2 separate regions of the Homo sapiens genome follow, and region 2 is linked to region 1. The links are contacts of gene promoters, found by promoter capture Hi-C in blood cells and fetal thymus (Javierre and others, 2016). All regions are on one chromosome and are shown on one strand. The core of a region is centred on a gene start or on the middle of the fragment in contact, and the rest is flanking DNA. Distances in the headings are between cores, read along the strand shown. Region 1 holds the start of ANKRD29 (ankyrin repeat domain 29). Region 2 overlaps LAMA3 (laminin subunit alpha 3).

Region 1 (2,700 bases), core at 184-2,683:
AAACAAACAAACAAACAAAAAACTATTAAAGCAAAACCTCTGATGCTTGATTTTTATATAATAACGTTGTGTGGCAACTTAAAAACTGTGTCATTTATAGGCACTCAAGGCAAGGAAAATGTTTAGAGTCCTTATTTTTAAAATTGGAATTTTCTATAAAAGTTCAGAATGTTTTTAATTTAAAGTTGTTTTAAGCACAAAGTAATACAATTTATCCATGAAGGTTAAACATTTTAATTTTTATCATTAACTTTTATTTGTAATTGTTTTCTACCTTTTAAATTAAATATTCGTTACAAATTTAATTGAGAAGAGGGAAGGAGGGGGAGAATGAATGAGTGGATTCTTATAGTTTGAGGGGGTAAGACCTCCATTTTTATACTATTTTTTTGTTTTGTTTTTATTTTTATTTTTGAGGCAGAGTCTTGCTCTGTTGCCCAGGCTGGAGTGCAGTGACCGAATCTTGGCTCACTGCAGCCTCAACCTCCCAGGTTCAAGCGATCCTCCCACCTCAGCCTCCCGAGTAGCTGGGACTACAGGTGCGCACCACCACGCCTGGCTAATTTTTGTATTTTTAGTAGAGATAGAGTTTTGCCATGTTGGCCAGTCTGATCTCGAACTCCTGGACTCAAGTGATCTGCCCGCCTTTGGCCTCCCAAAGAGTTGGGATTATAGGCGTGAGCCACTATGCCTGGGCTACTTTTTTACTTTCACTTTTCTAAAATGCTCTCAAAGAGCTGTTGTTGCCGTTTATACTTAAAACTCCCAGTTTTACTTCGCCCAAACCAATCCTGGGCAGGCAGCAGGAGTGGACACACATACTGCAATACTCCAGGGCTGCAGCATCAGACCCAGAGGAGGAGGGAACTGCTGGATTAATAACGCGGAGGAGGAGGAGGGGTATGAGTCTATTCCAAAATTGGCCTTTGCCCTTCAAAGAGGAAAAGACCACTTATTGTTTGTGCAATCAAAAGGTTTGTTTCCTAGATATTTTCCCCAGGAGAAAAAAGTTTCCCAGGAAACCGAGAAAGAAATTATAACGAAAATAGCTATTGGATGAATTTTTTCCTCAAGCTTCATTTTTACATCATTATAATATTTGTGCTGTAATGAAGGTTGGGAGTCCTCTGGGGCAGACCAGTCTATTTGGGAGGATATGTATGGAGTTTGTGTGTGAGTACATGCGGGTGAGTGGGCGTGAGTGTGGAAAGTATGTGTGTGGAACCTCTGTGTGTGTGGAATGTGGAGCGTATGCACAATGTGTGTGGAGTTTGGAGTGTGTGTGTGGACGAGTGAGTGTGGAAGTGTGGACGTGTGTGGAAAGTGCACAGTGCGTGCGGAGTTTGGGGTGTTTGTGCACGCGCGTGTGTGGCAGGTCCTGGAGCGCGTCCACGCGACACCCCATGTGTAGTGTGCGCGCGCGCGCGCCCCCGCGCCGCCCCTTCGGCCCGGCCCTGTGTGCGGCGGCTGCTGCCGGGCCGGGCGGCGGGAGCGCGCGGCGTCGGAGGCCGCCCCTCTGCGGAACGCCGAGAGCCCCGGGAGAGTGAAGGGCCGGGGAGGACAAGGCGCCCCGGGCCCAAAGCGCGCCGGCTCCCGCTCGGGCGGCCGCGGACATGTGCAGGATGTCCTTCAAGGTGAGCGACCGGGACTCCGGGGTCAGGGCTGGGGCCGGGCTCGGGCGGCCGGGCCCGCGGGGTCGGGTGGGGTGGGATGGGGTGGGATGGGGTGGGCGCTGCCCGCTGCCCGCCGCCTCCTCCTTCCTCTCTCCTCCAGCTGCGGGCGAGGCCCGGGAGGAAGCGGCGGGGCTGGGTGCGCCCTGTGGGTTTGCGGTTTGCCTGCCTGCCCTGCCTGAGAGGCTTCGCACTCATGGCTGTGGATCGGCTGAGTCTGTGCCCGGCGACGGGGCGGCGGGGACTGTCGCCGGGTAACAGGTCGGGGGCGGGTAAGAAGCCTGGGGTCAGCGCTGTCCTGCAGCAGAAGGAGTCCCCGACCCTGACCCTCTGGGTCCTCATGCAGGAGTACCAGCTGCACCCACGGATGCCTCCTCCCCGGAGGGGTGGCCAGCACCCAGGGAGGCTTCAGGGTCCAAAGGTGTCTTGTCTCAAAAGAGTTGATTAAAGTCATTCCATCTAATCCCCACATTTTAGGATGAAAGAGGTTGATTTGCCTCGATTGAAAGGGTTTAATAAAAATAGCAGTTAAAATGTATTAAACAGTTCAAATGTGCCTGACTCTGAACCAAGGACATGGTGTGTATGGTCTCAACCCTGGGGGAGACCTGTGGGAGGTGCTCTTCGTGGCTCTTTTTTTTTTTTTTTTCAAATGAGAAAACTAAGATATAGAGAAATTAACTCACCCACGGTTTTGCAGCCAATAAGTTATGGTGTTAAGACTGAAACCCAAGTGTGTCTGACTCCTAAGCCACTGTAATCCCGTTGCCGACAATAGCTCATGTAAGCAGAGGAGTGACATGGCGAGATGTGCATGTTGCAAAGATCTCTGGCTAGGTTTGGAGAAGAGGGTTGGAGCTGGAAGATGTTGTCATCTTTTTAAGAAATGGTACTGGACCAGTGCATAGGTGGTGAGAATGGAACGAAGCAGACGAATGTGAATGACTTTAAAGTTTTTTTTCCTGAGACGGAGTTTTGCTCTTGTTGCCCAGGCTGGAGTGCAATGGTGTGATCTCAGCTCACTGCAACT
Region 2 (2,782 bases), core at 236-2,735, 120 kb before region 1:
ATAAACTCTATTTATCCTTTCTAGTTCTCTTTATTTCTTCCTATAGATTTGGTGTCATTTTCTTACTCCAATACAGCTTTGTTCTCACCTATCTCCTTTGTGCTACTGTCAAACATATTACATTTTTATATGATATAGGCCCCATATTTATGTATGTATGTATGTATTTGTATATACAGTTCGTATACTTTCTGTTAAAATCAGTCAAGAGAAGAATGTATAAAAATATTCAATTATACTCTCTTTTGTAATTTTTACATGTTATTCAAATTATTATTTGATGGTACCTGTTTCAGCTTTAAGAACATCCTTTATTATGTCTATTATTTCTTATAAGTCAGGTTGGGTGAATTCTGTTAGTTTTTGTTCATCTGAGAAAGTCTTTACTTAGCCTTGATCATGAATAGTAATTTTGATGGATAGGAGATTCTTGGTTGACAGTTTTTCCACTTTCAGCACTTAGAATATACGCTCTCACTGCCTTCTTGCCTCTATTGTTACTAATGAGAAGTCAGTTGTTATTCTAACTGGTGTTCCTGTGTTCATAATGAGTCTTTTTTTTCCTGCTTTCAAGATTTTCTCTTTGTCTTTGTCTTTCAAAATTTTAATTATGATTTTAACTATAATATGTCTGGCTGTGTGGATCCCTCTGTATTTATGCTATTTGGAGTTCATTAAGCTTCTTAGCTGTATAGATGGCTTTTCATTAAATTTAGTAAGTTTTCCACCATTATTTCTTTGGCTATTTTTTTCTATTCCTTTTTCTCCTCTCTTTCTGATGCTCTCATTACCCATATGTTGTGCTTAATGGTATCCCATATTTCTTTCAGGTTCTGTTTATTTATTTATTTATTTGAGACAGAGTTTCACTCTTGTCACCCAGGCTGGAGGGCAATGGTGCGATCTTGGCTCACTGCAACTTCTGCCTCCCAGGTTCAAGCAATTCTCTTGCCTCAGCCTCCCAAGTAGCTGGGATTACAGGCGCCTGCCACCATGCCTGGCTAATTTTTGTATTTTTAGTAGAGACGGGGTTTCACCATGTTGGCCAGGCTGATCTCAAACTCCTTACTTCAAGTGATCCACCCCTCTTGGCCTCCCAAAGTGCTGAGATAACAGGCATGAGCCACTGCCCCCGGCCTGTTTATTTATTTTCATTCTTTTTTTCTTTCTGTTTTCAGACTGCACAATCTCTATCAATCTGTCATTAAGTTTGCTGATTCTTTCTTCTGCTAGCTCAATTTACTGTTGAGCCACTTTAGTGAATTTTTCATTTCAGTTATTATACTTTTCAACTCCAAAAGTTCCATTTGGTTATTTTGTAAAACAATTTCTATCTCTTTATTGATATTCTCTATTCAATTAGATGTTGTCATCATACCTTCCTTTAATTCATTAACCATGATTTCCTTTAGTCTTCTATACAGATTTATAATAGCTGCTTTAAAGTCTGCTAAGACTACCATCTGGCTCATTCAAAAGTGGTTTCTATTGTCTTCTTCTTCCCCTATGTATGGGTCACACTTCCCTCTTTCTTTGAAATTCTGCTATGCTCTACAAGTGGACACAGGTGGAGGTGGCGCCATGGTCTTCTCAGTTTTCCTCTCCCACCATAGATCCCTACTCTATGAGCCAGCTTGGGTAGGGTTGATTGGGATCCCAGAATTCTCAGCCTGAAGTGCCTAAGTTAGAGCTACTACCCTACAAGTGGAGGGGTGGTGGGTAAGAGAGAGCTGGTCCTCTTTGCTGAGCCCACCTGGAATAGGGCTTCTGCTATACAGGACTGCAGAAGGTTGAGAAATATCAGTGGCCTTCCCCTCCCAAAATGAAACAAACCATAGCCCCAAACTGGGGCACAGGATAAAGAGAGTGCCCATCTTCTTGGCAACACATATGGGTAGATCTTCTATAAAACAGATTTGGGGATGGATAATGAAGGGGGTCATGGCTGAAATGTCACAGAGACTCTCATTTCTTACCTAGATTCAAATTTTCTTAAGTAATTGTTTCTTCATTTGCTATATGCTCTTATGACCATTAACAGAGACTTCAAACAATTTTTTAAAATATTTTCACTGGTTAATTTCTGTTTTACTGAAAAGAGTATCTACCAACCTCCCTCCTCTGTTGTTATGGAAGTCCTTCCTCCCCTCTGCTTTGTCATGAATACATTCATGCATTTTCTACCTACCTTAAAATAAATTAGCTCTAGTAGTGGAGAAATGTGGAAAAGAGCATTCTTAAAGTGTTGTATTATTTATTCATTATCTTTGTATCCATAAACACAAGCTTTGTCCATATGAATAAGTTAGAATATTTGTAATTCATTCTACCAGAATGAATCTGAAGTTGTGGCTGGTAGAGAGGAGGAAAAAAAGAAACCCTTTGATATATTTTCAGCCACAAGAATGTTTTGCACACCAGGAGCCAGCAGGTAAAGGAAAGGTTTGGGGTATGGGATTCAGGCATTTAAACAAACAGGGAGATGGCTGGAAATGGGACTACAAGCTCTTAAAATGATGCAGAGGGAAGTATAGGTCAGGAGAAGAAAGGTGCAAGTGAATAGCTAACTTATGAACAATTACTTCCTCAGTTCTAAGAGCTTTACCTGTCAGTACATATGTAACCCTCACAACAATGAATTATGAGACAGGCACTATTTTTTGGAAACTGAGGAACAGAGGGGTTAAGTAACTTGCCCAAGTTGATAGCTAGTGCCACCCCTGCTCTTCACTACCTTGTCCTCCAGCTTAGGGGAGGGAGTTTTTCATGCTTACAGTTCCTT

The links. Contacts are between HindIII fragments. The CHiCAGO score rates a contact against its expected background, and 5 or more counts as called.
Region 2: a fragment that was not itself captured here is called in contact with the fragment with the promoter of ANKRD29 in region 1 in 2 of 17 cell types (M1 macrophages and M0 macrophages); the score reaches 5.1 in M1 macrophages.

The regions. Positions count from the first base shown.
Region 1 is chr18:23,661,644-23,664,343 of GRCh38, reverse strand. ANKRD29 (ankyrin repeat domain 29) reads left to right here and starts at 1,433. Exons shown (of 10, transcript NM_173505.4): 1 at 1,433-1,634. The coding sequence starts at 1,614. The HindIII fragment of the contact is 8,557 bases long and covers 1,077-2,700 here.
Region 2 is chr18:23,785,356-23,788,137 of GRCh38, reverse strand. All of the region lies in intron 12 of LAMA3 (laminin subunit alpha 3), which reads right to left. Among named protein-coding and RNA genes, the nearest start is that of LAMA3, 97 kb to the right of the region's middle. The HindIII fragment of the contact is 1,607 bases long and covers 682-2,288 here.